Linked DNA regions of Homo sapiens: region 1 is linked to region 2. Evidence: promoter capture Hi-C in 16 types of primary human blood cells and fetal thymus (Javierre and others, 2016). All regions are on one chromosome and are shown on one strand. Each heading gives the region's core, a stretch centred on a gene start or on the middle of the fragment in contact. The rest is flanking DNA. Distances are from core to core; before and after follow the strand shown.

Region 1 (6,003 bases), core at 522-3,021, 280 kb before region 2:
TCTGCGGGCTGAGGCAGGAGAATCTCTTGAACCCAGGAGGCAGAGGTTTCAGTGAGCCGAGATCACGCCACTGTACTCCAGCCTGGGTGACAGAGCAAGATGAGACAATGTCTCAAAAAAAAAAAAAATTTTTTTTAACAGGTATTAAACCAAAGCTGTAAAATACATGAATGAAATATATTAGACTAGGTTTGGGGATAGATTATGTGTAAAAAATGGTTCTCAGACTTGACAAATATACTACTGACATTTTGGAAAGGAAGAAACACTGATTCTTAAGAATTTGGAACTCTGGTTTGAGAAGTACTGACTTTAAAGTTTTATTCCAAGAAAATATCTTTCAGGCCTGGTGCAATGGCTCACACCTATAATCCCAGCACTTTGGGGGGCTGAGATGGGAGGATCCCTTGAGCCCAGGAATTTGAGACCAACCTTGGCAGCATGGTAAGACCCTGTCTCTGCAAAAAATAAATAAATAAATAAATAAAAGATGTCCTTCAGTTGCAAATTACAAAGCTTTATAACAGTACAGAGACTTATTTTTAGATATTCATGAAAATAAAAATACAAAATTAAAAATTTCTTTTAGAATTTGCAAACTTCAGAGAACACAGCTATGGATCTCAGCTTAAGAAAGTGAGTGTTAGAAAATACAGGATAATTTAAGATTGCTTATTTAGGTCTTGAAATACCTCAGGGTCACAATACTCAACTTCATTTTTACAAAATTGTTCAGCAGTGTAATTGTAGGAGATTTAGATGAATTTCTCTTGATTACACTGCCTGGGAAAGTCTTGAGTTATCGTAGACTGGACAAGTGTTTTTTCGTTTGTTTTTCTGGGGACAGGGTCTTGCTTTGTCACCCAGGCTGGACTAAAGAGGTTGAGGCTGCAGTGATTGAGGCTGCGATCGCAGTGGTGCGATCATGGCTCACTTCAGCCTCGATCTCCCGGGCTCAAGTGATCCTCCCACAGCCTCCCGAGTAGCTGGGACTACAGGCACACGCCACTGCACCTGGCTAATGTTTAAATTTTTTTGTGGAGACAGTGGTCTCATTATGTTGACTAGGCTGTTCTTGAACTCCAGGGCTCCAGGGCTCAAGCAATCCTCCCACCTCAGCCTCCCAAAGTATTGAGATTACAGGCGAGAGCCACCACGCCTGGCTGTGAACAATGGCCTTTTGATGGCCTATCATGTGCCTTGCACTCTGCTGCATGCTGTGGGGTACAGTGTAAGACAAGGTCACGACCCTGCTCTCAGAGTTTCTGTTCAAGTAATAAAATATGCAAAGGAAAAAATAACAGATACTATTAATCTAGTGCTTAGGATGTGCCAGGTACAGTCATATAAGATCATATATGTGAAGAACTCAGCCTAAAATTCTCCACTTGGCTGGGTGTGGTGGCTCACGCCTGTAATCCCAGCACTTTGGGAGGCTGAGGCAAGTGGATCACTAGAGTCCAGGAGTTAGAGACCAGCCTGGGCAGCATAGTGAGACCCTGTCTCTACAAAAAAAAAAAAAACAAAAAAAACAAAACACAAAAGTTTGCCAGGTGTCATGGTGTGTGCCTGTAGTCCTAGCTACTCGGGAGACTAAGATGGGAGGATCACTTGAGCTCCAGAGGTCAAGGTTGCCATGAGCCAAGATTGTACCACTGCACTCCAGCCTGGACAACAGAGTAAGACCCTGTCTCAAAAAAAAAAAAAAATCCTTCATTAGTTTCCTTTTGCTCTTAAGACAGTGATCAAAATACAGTGGGACCTGGCTGGGCATGGTTTTTCATGCCTGTAATCCCAGCACTTTGAGAGGCTGAGGCAGGCGGATCATCTGATGTCAGGAATTCGAGACCAGCCTGGCCAACATGGTGAAACCCCATCTCTACTAAAAATACAAAAATTAGCTGGGCATGGTGGTGCGCGCCTGTAACCCCAGCTACTCTGAAGGCTGAGGCGGGAGAATTGCTTGAACTCGTGAGGCAGAGGTTGCACTGAGCTGGGATTGCGCCATTGCAGTTCAGCCTGGGAGACAGAGTGAGATTCCATCTCAAAAAAAAAAAAAAAAATACAGTGAGACCACATGATTTTGTATAGTCTGGCTCTTGCACACCTCTCAAGTCTTGTTTTCATCACATTTTCTATAGTTCTCCTTTTTCCAGTCATGTGGCCTTTTCTCAGGTCCTCAGAGGCAGAGTGTTTACTTCTACGAGGCTTTTGCCCATTTTGTTTACACCAGCACTTTGCCAAGGTAATCCTCACTCATCCTGAAGAGTCCAGCTTAATCCTACATCCTCAGCAAACTCTCAGACCTTGACTTTCCAGACTCCATCACCTCCTGGTTATGCACTCTTGCAATACCATCCATCTCTCTCTAGGACATGATAATTGAATTTCACATTTATTCCTCTGGTTATTTGGTTAATGTCTTTCCCCCTCACTAGACTTTGACCATCGTAAGATATTTGTATTTTGATCACCGTTCTTCATGTCACCTGGCACTTAGAAGTTCAAGAAATATTTGTTCAATGAAAGAATAAATCTACCCTTGTACAGAATATGAATAGAGACTTAGGGAATTTAAGTGACTTGCTCAAGATCACATGGCTAATAAGTGGCAGAGGTGGGATTGAACCCATGTGTTCAACTCCAGAGCTTAAGTTTTTACCCATTACTCTAGACCCAGTGCTTCTTATACTGTCAATGGTGAAGGACCAGTTTTGGGGTTTTTTGTTTTTTAAATTTCTAATCTCTTATAGGCTAATACTTTTGTAAAATATTTTGATCATGTATCTGGATGTTGTGACAATGTCAAATTATTATAAAAGTCTCTAAATCCTTACTCTCAGTGTCTGTGCTTATCACAGACTAGCATTCACCACACTTTGAGTATCTTTAGACTAGCATCCAGGGAGCAGAATGTATTACATGTTGCGCCCTGTAGATAAAGTAGAGAACTGTATAGCATAATGAGCTCAGGAGGAGGAAGCAGAGAGAATTCCACGAGGGCTCCAGGCATTGGGAAAAGCTTCGTGGAGATGCTGAGACTTGAAGATGTTAAGGCATGATGGAGTAGAACTCGGAAAGGAAAGGGCACTGGAACATTCCCAGCATGTGGAGAAACTAGAATATGTGTAGTGTGACAGGGGAAACCCCGGGGTACTGACTGTTTAAAACAAGTGGTTTGTATTGAGTAGAGACAGGAAGCCAAGCACAGTTTTTTTGTTTGTTTGTTTGTTTTTTGTTGTTGTTGTTTTTTTGAGATGGAGTCCCACCCCAGGCTGGAGTGCAATGGCGTCGTCTCGGCTCACTGCAACCCCCTACCTTCCTGGTTCAAGTGATTCTCCTACCTCAGCCTCCTGAGTAGCTGGGATTACAGGCACAGGCCACCACACCCGGCTAATTTTTATATTTTTAGTAGAGACAGGGTTTCATCATGTTGGCAAGGCTGGTCTCAAACTCCTGACCTCGTGATCCGCCCACCTCGGCCTCCCAAAGTGCTGGGATTACAGATGTGAGCCACTGCGCCTGGCCCCTACCAAGCACAGGTTTTACTATGTTCATTTCTGTTCATAATTTTTTTTCACGTTTCAAGACTATTTCCATTACTTTAAGGGCCTTTTCCTCTTTTCCTCCTTTAATGAACTTTTGAGTACCTAGAAAAAAATTAATATTTTGATCTCTGTTTTGTCATTTGCATCTTAGCAACACCCATTTGTTGCATAACACTGTATTCTTTTTTTGTTGTTAGAGACAGGGTCTTAACTGTTGCCCAGGCTGGAGAGCAGTGGCGCCATCTCAGCTCATTGCAACCTCTGCCTCTTGGGCTCAGGTGATCCTTCTACTGCAGCCTCCTGAGTAGCTGGGACTACAGGCACGTGCCACCAGCCTGGCTAATTTTTTTTTTTTTTTTTTTTTTTTTTTTTTTTTTTTTTTTTAGAGACAGGGTCTTGCTATGTTGCCCAGGCTAGTCTCAGACTCCTGGGCTTAAGTGATCCACCTGCCTTTGCCTTCCAAATTGCTGGGATTAGAGGCGTGAGCCACTGCACCTGGCCTAGCATGATATTTATTGATCAACTATGGCTCTAATAGTTGATTTAAGATCACCTAGTAATTTCATTTATTTATTCAATAAATGTTTACTGAGAGCTTTCTAACAGTCTGACTTCTGGGTAGATTTTCTATTTGTCCATCAGATAGCAACCCTCTCAAGGCCTGTTCTCATTTCTCTGTAGGTAATAAGAAATTCCTTCTTTTATCCTCACTCTTCTCCCTTTCTCCTGACCCCAGATCTCCTGAGCAGTGTTCAACTATTCTTTTCACTCAGAGAAAGTGTCTTCCTAGCTTATTATCAAATAAGAAAAAGCTGAGTGTAATGTCCCAAATGTACCTAACTCTGAAATATTTATGTGTTCAGAAACACAGTCACTTTTGAAAAATACTTTTCTGAAAACCTAGTAGTTAGGTTAAATAAGTTTACGTTGGTTTTAAAGATACTTGTATTTTGGGAAGTTTCCACACAGAGCTGTTGCCAAATAGGCCCTCTCTTGTGTTTAAATAGGTCTTCTACTTGACTCTCCCATTTTCTTCTAGTGTTTCACTTTTTAAAATCTCATTGTGTTGGTTGTATTTTTCAGTCAAGTCCTAATTCGAAGCAGAGTCCTCAGGGAAAATGGAAAATACATTCCCAAACAGGTACTCATTTATCTTTTATTAAAAAGCTCCACGATTCACTGTTGGGCAGTAGATATCTGAATGTTTTATAAGGGGGCTCTGGGGAAAGCTAAAGGTTGGCAACTTAGTAATTAAGCTGTGGCCTGGTGGTGTTTGCTCTCATGGTGACCTCACCCTTCTTAGGAAATTGTTTTTAAATGTGACTCAGCTAAAGTGTCAGGTCGCCTGCCAAGTAGGCTGACAGCTCTGAGCGGAACAGCATATCCTAAAGGCCTTCTGACTAAGCCACTGGGGAGTAATTTAACAGTTTGCTGTGTCATAGTTCTTAGACTTAAAACACTTTTTTTTTTTTTTACTAGTCTTTCTTGACACGAAAATATTATTTCAACAACCCAGAGGATGGATTTTTCAAAAAAACTAAACGGAAGGTAGTGCCACCTTCTCCTATGACTGGTATGTTTGTTCCCTTCACTCATCTTTAAGGAAGATTTTTAACATGGGTATTTGAGTGGGGTGGGGTAGGCAGGGAGGGTGTCATTTTATTTAAATGTTAAATTGCAAAAGATAGTAATCTTAGACCTTAGAAATCATCTGATACAGGGATCTATGGAAGTGGAATTCTCTTTTTCAGTTAGATTTTCTGAGAACCCCAATGTATAAAGTGGATTAAAAAAAATAGTTCTCAGCTGATGGAGTGGGGAGGCCAGAGCTATTGTCCCTGGGTCTCTCCTTATTGCTGTTCTCAGGACCCAGGATTCTAGGGAGCACAGTTGGTAAAGCATTCCAGCCTGGCTGTCACCCAGTGCCTGGATCCCCTTCCAATAGATGGCTGCCCAGCTTCTGCCTAAATGAGGAAGAGTGCAGTACTTCCAAGATGTGCCATTTTGTTGACTTTGTTGTTAGACGTGATTGTTTGGTCTACCCTACAGTTTTGGCTCTAACATTTTCTACTTCCACTGATACCAGTCATGTGAAAAATATAGCATGTTAAAAGTAAAACAGGCCAGGTGTGGTGGCTCACGCCTATAATCCTTGCATTTTGGGAGGCTGAGTCAGGTGGATTGATTGCCTGAGGTCAGGAGTTCAAACCAGCCTGGTTTACATGATGAAACCCCGTCTCTACTAAAAATACAAAAATTAGCCTAGCGTGGTGGTGGGTGCCTGTAGTCCCAGCTACCCCGGAGGCTGAGGCAGGAAATTGCTTGAACCTGGGAGGTGGAGGTTGCAGTGAGCTGAGGTCACGTCACTGCACTCCAGCCTGGGCGACAGAGCAAGACTCCATCTCCGAAAAATAAAAATAAAAATAACTAAAAGTAAAACAAAGTAATTTGTTGT
Region 2 (6,063 bases), core at 2,546-5,045:
TTTTTCCCTACTATCTCAGTTTGTGTCAATTCCATCTTTCCTGTTGTTCAAGCCAAAGATCTTGGTGTTGTCCTCAACTCCTCTTTTCCTCTCACATTCATATTCAATCTGTCAGGAACCTGTTAGCTCCACCTTTAAAATATATCCTGAATCTGACCACTTCTCCCCTCCTTCACTGGTAGCATCCTGGATTACTGTCAGAGTCTTCTCATTGGCTCTCTGCTTCTACCTTTGGCCACCCAAGGTTTATTCTTTTTTTTTTTTTTTTTTTTTTTGAGACAGAATCTCGCTCTGTTGCCCAGGCTGGAGTGCAGTGGCACAATCTCAGCTCACTGCAAGCTCCACCTCCCAGGTTCACGCCATTCTCCTCCCTCAGCCTCCCAAGCAGCTGGGACTACAGGCACCCACCACCATGCCTAGCTAAGTTTTTGTATTTTTAGTAGAGACAGGGTTTCACCGTGTTAGCCAGGATGGTCTCGATCTCCTGACCTCGTGATCCGCCTGCCTCAGCCTCCCAAAGTGCTGGGATTACAGGTGTGAGCCACCGCGCCTGGCCCCCAAGGTTTATTCTTAACCCCACAGCTAGCACCATCTTTTGTAAGCCGCCATGTCATGTCACTCCTCCGCTCAGAACCCTCCAGTGACTCCCGTTTCAGAGGAAAGGTGGAAGTCCGCTGCAAGGCCCTGTTAGCTCTTCAACCTCACTTCCTCCTGCCTCCCAGTCACCTGGCTCCAGTCTTGCTGGCCTCCTTGCTGTTCTTTGAATGCACCAGGCTTTTGCACTGGCAGTCTCCTCTGCCTGGAACATTCTTCCTCCACATGTCTGTACCTTACCTCCCTCAGGTTGTTGCTCCAAAGTTACCTGTCCGTGAGGCCTGCTCAACCGCACTGTTGAATCCTGCACCTCCCACTCACCCATTATTTCCAGTTCCGTTGATTCTGCTCTACTTCGTCTCTTTCCCCATAGCACTTAATATTGTCTAATCTATTATGTAATTTACTTATGTCTATTTTGTACTGTCCTCCCCACACAACTAGAGTATCAGCCCCCTGAGGACAAGAACCTTTGTTTTGTTCACCATTGCAAGCTAATCCCCTTTAACAGTGGCTGACATAGGGTATGTATACATAGTGTTTGTGGAATGAATGAAGCCCTGGTGCCTAGAACAGGGTGTGGGATATAAAACATGCTAATGCATATTTAGTGAGTGGATGTAATGGTAATTCCTGAGGATTTGACTTAGTCCGGGGGAGCTTCCCTGTGGAGAGGGGCTTGGAAGTGGACCTTAAAGGCTGAATCAGACTTAGAAAAAGAGTGAGGAGAGAGAGAGAGAAACAGAGAGAGAGAGAGAAAAAAAAAAAAGAAAAGAAAAGACATATCAGGCCTGATACTGACTCGGGCAGAGCACTGGAAATTGGACTTTTCTACGAGGGTGATGGGAGCCGGGGCAGGCTCCTGACCAGGGGCAACCCCAGCCTCCACTTCTATCAGTCAGCGGCATCCTTGGGAGGGAGAATTTGGAAGCCCCCACCCCACTCCCACACCCCTTCCTATTCAGCTTACGTGAGGGTTCGCTCTACTCGGCTGCCCTGGCCTCCAATCACCTCTCCCAGGGCCAGGAACGCTTGTCCCAGGAAATCCTATGCAGGACAAGGAGTCAGCAAGACCAGAAGCTCTTGAGTGCTGAGTCCCAGCCTAGCCCCAGTGATGCTCCTGCACAGGACCAGGGCAGTTCCCAGGCGAATGAGTGGTGCAAGAGCCACGGCCCTACATGGGCTTTAATGGAGGGGGTGTGAAAGAAGGGGTCTGCGAGCAATCTCTGCCTTGTAGTGGGTCATCAGTCCAAGCCTGTTCTCCACAATACCACCCCCACCCCCAACCTCTGCCCAGCCCCATTCAGCCTCACCTTCTGCAGGTCCCAGCAGTGGCAGCCAAGAAGGAAGAGGAACAGTGAGTAGGGGGCACAGGCAGGACACTCAGGCAGGAGGAGAGGGACCAGGAGGGTGGGTTGGGGGCCTGAAGAAGATGGGGTCTGGGTCGAGGGTTGGGAGGAGTTCTGAGAGTCGTTGAACACATCTAAGTGCCTCCTGTGCGCTCCGCCAACCCTCGAGGAAACGTTTGCTCACCGGTTTGGAGATGTTGGTTTTGGAGTCCACGTTGTACCTGGGAAAAGAGTGGAACCGGTGTGGGGTGGGGCTGGGTGGGGGAGAGGGTGGAAAGGGGTCGGGCACCGAGTCTTGGTGAAAATTTTGGGTGGAGGGATGGGCGGCCGTGGACCCGAATTCAGCTTTGGTCTCCTTTTGGGGAGGAGTCAGGGTGGGCTGAGTAGTCAGACGGTCAAGCCTGGGCCGAGGCCAAGTCAGGGGCTGCTGGGGGCAGGGTTGTGTGGAAGGGGTCGGGCCTGAGGTGGAGCTGCGATAGGAGCAGAGTTGTGGGCGGGGCCAGAGCGGGGGACGGAACTGGACCGCATCTCATAAAAGGGCAGGGCTCAGGCTAGAGGGGGCCATTCAGAATGGGAGGGAGGCCTGCGAGAAGAACCAGGCCGGAGGCGAGGCGGGGGTGGGGCCAGCCAGAATTCCGGGCGGATCCAGGTCGGGGGCGGGCCAAGCCAGAATTCCAGGCGGGGCCTCACACATCGAAGCGCAGATTTTGCTTTTCCTCAAAGAAATAGTCGAGGACGAATTTGCGCACGAAGTCTGGGTTCAGCGTGTTATCAATCACCTCGGTCCGTCCGAACTGGGTAGGGGGGTGGAGGGTCAGCGTGGGACGTGCAGACGGGCAGGGGAATTCCCGGGCGACGCCCTGGGCCGGGAGGGGGCTCTGGGACTCACCTCCCGCCACTCCTGGCTGGCCCGGCTCTGCGTGTAAAGCACCACCACTGCAGGTGGGGGCGGGGAGGGAAGGACGTCAGGTCGGCTCCCACCCCTGGCCCCGACTCCACCCGCCCCTGAGTCGCGCCCAGACCCCAAGTTCCCCCTCCCGGTCCTGGAGCCGCCTACTGGGGTCGGACTTGGAGAAGGTATCAAGGTCTAGCAGGTTCCTAGAGAAAAGCAACAGACAGACAGAGTGGATCATCCTGGAGTCCGCCCGCCTCGAGTCGGCTCTGAGCCGGGCACTGAGGAGAGGCATGGGGCCCGCATCGAACCTCTGTCCCCCATGGCTACCCCCAGCCGGGGTCCGCTCTGTCAGCACTCTGGACAGCACCGGAAATCGCTGTCCAGGAACCATGGCTCTGCGGACTGGACGCGAACGCACCCACACTGTCTCCAAGGGCCCAGGAAAGAGGGCTCGCCCCAGAACTTTGTCCTCCTGGGGCCGAGCTCCTACCGGATATCTGCGACCCACCCCCTGAACCCGCAGGCTGAGCCCTTTTTTCGGGGTGGGGCTGCCCAAGACCCCCCGCTTCTCGATCCCACCAGCTACTCGCCCTGTCATCAGCTGTGATTTTCCAGCCAATTTCGCCTCTCCCCGGGGGTCTAGCCCCTGCCCAGGCTGAGCCCCGCGGCTGGCTGGGGCTGGGGCAGTGCCAGTGCCTAAGCCCTCCCCAGCGCGGCCCGCTCACCGGCAGGACACGGTAATTTCAATCTTGGTGGCCGGGACGCTGCGCTCGGAGGCTCCGCCGAGAGACATGGCTGGTCGGGCGACCAGAGCCGCAGGAGGCTGCGAGACCAGGGCTGCTGGGGCTAGGGGCGACGGCAGCGGCGGGGCCGGCCCATGTGCCGCGGTGTCGGCGGCGGCGGCGGCTGCACTCGCTCCAGCCCTGCGTGCGCTCCAGCCGCTCGCGCCCTGACAGTGGCCGCCGGCGGCAGCGGCTCCAGATGGCAGCACAGCCCCGCCCGGCCCTGCGGGCGGCCCCCGCCCCATTGGAGCAGCCTGGAGCCAGCGGGGAACCTCACCCCGACTCCCAACTCCAACCCACACCTTGGTAGAGTCTGCCCTGCGCAAGTCTCTGGGGTGGAAACCCAAGCCCCCTAGAGTTGTCCATGATGCTGAAACATTTGGGGCACCTGGTGGGCACTGGAATTGTTGCCTCTTACTGAGCCACTCCCTTAGTGTTTCTGTCTTTTCCCACTCCCAGCCTGCCTAGGTCTCTGAATAGGAAAAGTACATCTCTTAGTAGCTGTGTGACCTTGGACAAGTTACTCAACATCTCTGTGGCTCAACCGTGAAAGGCCGTCAGAAAGGCCTTTAACAGCAGCTACTTTAGGTGCTGTAAAATTTTACTGAGATAACCCAAGGAAAACACTTAGCACACAGCAAGTGCTCAGTAAACATTCACTGGTATTTATGATTTGTCCTCTGGGTATTCACAATGATGACAGTAAATGGTGGCTGTTGAGCACCGTGCAAAGCTGTCTGCCCATGCCTTTAACCCTCACGACTTTCATGGCGTTACAGATGCGGACACACTCTCATGACGCAATCTACTGTAGGTTACACTGTAGAAGAGGGTGGTGGTCAGCCAGGCTCTCACCCACCACACATGCACACCAATTGCTATCTCCAAAGCTTCAGAAGCCAGTCCTTCCTCCATAGGCAGGGCTCAAGGTAGGGGATGCAGGTCACCCGTACCAGGACCCTGCTGCCTACAGAACTTGTTAAAGATGAAGATCCTGGTCAGGTACGGTGGCTCATGCCTGTAATCCCAGCACTTTAGGAGGCCAAGGCAGGCAGATCACTTGAGCTCAGGAGTTTGAGACTGGCCTGGCCAACATGGTGAAACCCCATCTCTACTAAATACAAAAATTAGCTGGGGATGGTGGCACGTTCACGTAGCTACTCAGGAGACTGAGGCAGGAGGATCGCTTGAACCCAGGAGGCAGGGGTTGCAGTGAGCCAAGATTGTGCCATTGCACTCCAGCTTGGGTAACAGTGAGACTCCATCTCAAAAAATCTGAAAAAAATGAAGATCCTCCAGCTCCTAATTCCCAGGCAACTTCCTTAGCAACCCTAAGGCTAAAGCTCAGGCAGCCCTGGGAATGTGCACAGCTCATCAGGCTCTCTAGGTGACTAGGACCTGCTTAGGCCCGAGAACCACTACTCTCAACAGTCTTGAGTGTTGTCCCCACTGCAGGGACTACCATGGCTCATGAGTGGAGAGGTATACCTGTCGCCAGTTCTCTTCCTGTTTCACCTGCCCTCCACATAAAAACCCCTTGTCCAGCACAAGGAAGGACAATGAGAACCTTCCTAGTAGCTCCACAAAGACAATAACCAAATGATGACACAAGAGTGGCTATTCAAAAAGACTTTGATTTTATTTTGTGATCTGTGTCAAACTGCCTCATTCTCAGTGCAGGTGATCCCTCCTCCCCAGAAACAAGAACTGACAGGTAGGGTCTTTGTGAAGTCATGGCTTCCACAAGGCCCCAGGGAAACCCCACACAGTTCTGAGAGTTGATGGGAATCCCAGCAAAGATGGGGTGGGTGGGAGACAGTGACAAGAAGGGGTGGTGGTCACCAGTCAAGAGGCTGGGGGTTGGAAAACCCTGTCTTTGGCCTTGCTCAGCTTTGGGGCTGCCATGTTCATGATGGAGATGGGGGACTGAAATTTCCCCTGACCTGGAAGTACCCCTTCGGCCAGGCATGGCTTTGATTCTCTGCTAAGGGCTCAGCTGAGAGAGGAGCAGGAAAATGTCATGGGCTGGCTTCTTCACAAGGCATTGCTGCTGATGCTCCGGAGTCCAACACCACGGGCAAATTGCTCCAGCAGGCCCCCGATGGCACCGGAAGGACTGGGGGCTACTGCCCGAAGCCCCACTGTGCTGCTGTACGCAGCCAAGAAGGCTGAGCGCACCTCCTGCAGCCGAGTCTCTCGATCACTCAGGGCTGCAAGCCTATGGGGAGGTCAAGAGAAAGAACAAAGACATTACCCTGGGACAGGACCCAGTATCCTCATCCTCCCTCCCTCCATACCACCTGTCCTTGTGCTTCTTCTGACTGTACAAGGCCAGTGTCTGTCCTACGGCCATGCTATCCTTGTGGTTCAGGCCCCAAATATCTGGCCCTGTTTTCCCTTAAACCATTCCTCTAAGCCCTCAGGCTACTGTTCCCACCTAGAG

The links. The method cuts DNA at HindIII sites, captures the fragments that hold promoters and counts their contacts. A CHiCAGO score of 5 or more calls a contact.
Region 1: a contact is called between a fragment that was not itself captured here and the fragment with the promoter of CPNE9 in region 2, in 1 of 17 cell types (monocytes). The highest score is 7.1, in monocytes.

The regions. Positions count from the first base shown.
Region 1 is chr3:9,976,075-9,982,077 of GRCh38, reverse strand. It overlaps EMC3 (ER membrane protein complex subunit 3), which reads left to right. Exons shown (of 8, transcript NM_001394674.1): 2 at 4,632-4,689; 3 at 5,028-5,121. Among named protein-coding and RNA genes, the nearest start is that of EMC3, 7.8 kb to the left of the region's middle. RefSeq lists an enhancer at 4,450-5,649. The HindIII fragment of the contact is 2,506 bases long and covers 519-3,024 here.
Region 2 is chr3:9,701,565-9,707,627 of GRCh38, reverse strand. CPNE9 (copine family member 9) reads right to left here and starts at 3,795. Exons shown (of 21, transcript NM_153635.3): 1 at 3,564-3,795; 2 at 3,001-3,041; 3 at 2,833-2,879; 4 at 2,634-2,737; 5 at 2,128-2,164; 6 at 1,908-1,910; 7 at 1,565-1,641. The coding sequence starts at 3,631. It overlaps MTMR14 (myotubularin related protein 14), which reads right to left. Exons shown (of 19, transcript NM_001077525.3): 19 at 5,235-5,838. The coding sequence ends at 5,655. RefSeq lists an enhancer at 3,246-4,156. The HindIII fragment of the contact is 18,760 bases long and covers 1-4,512 here.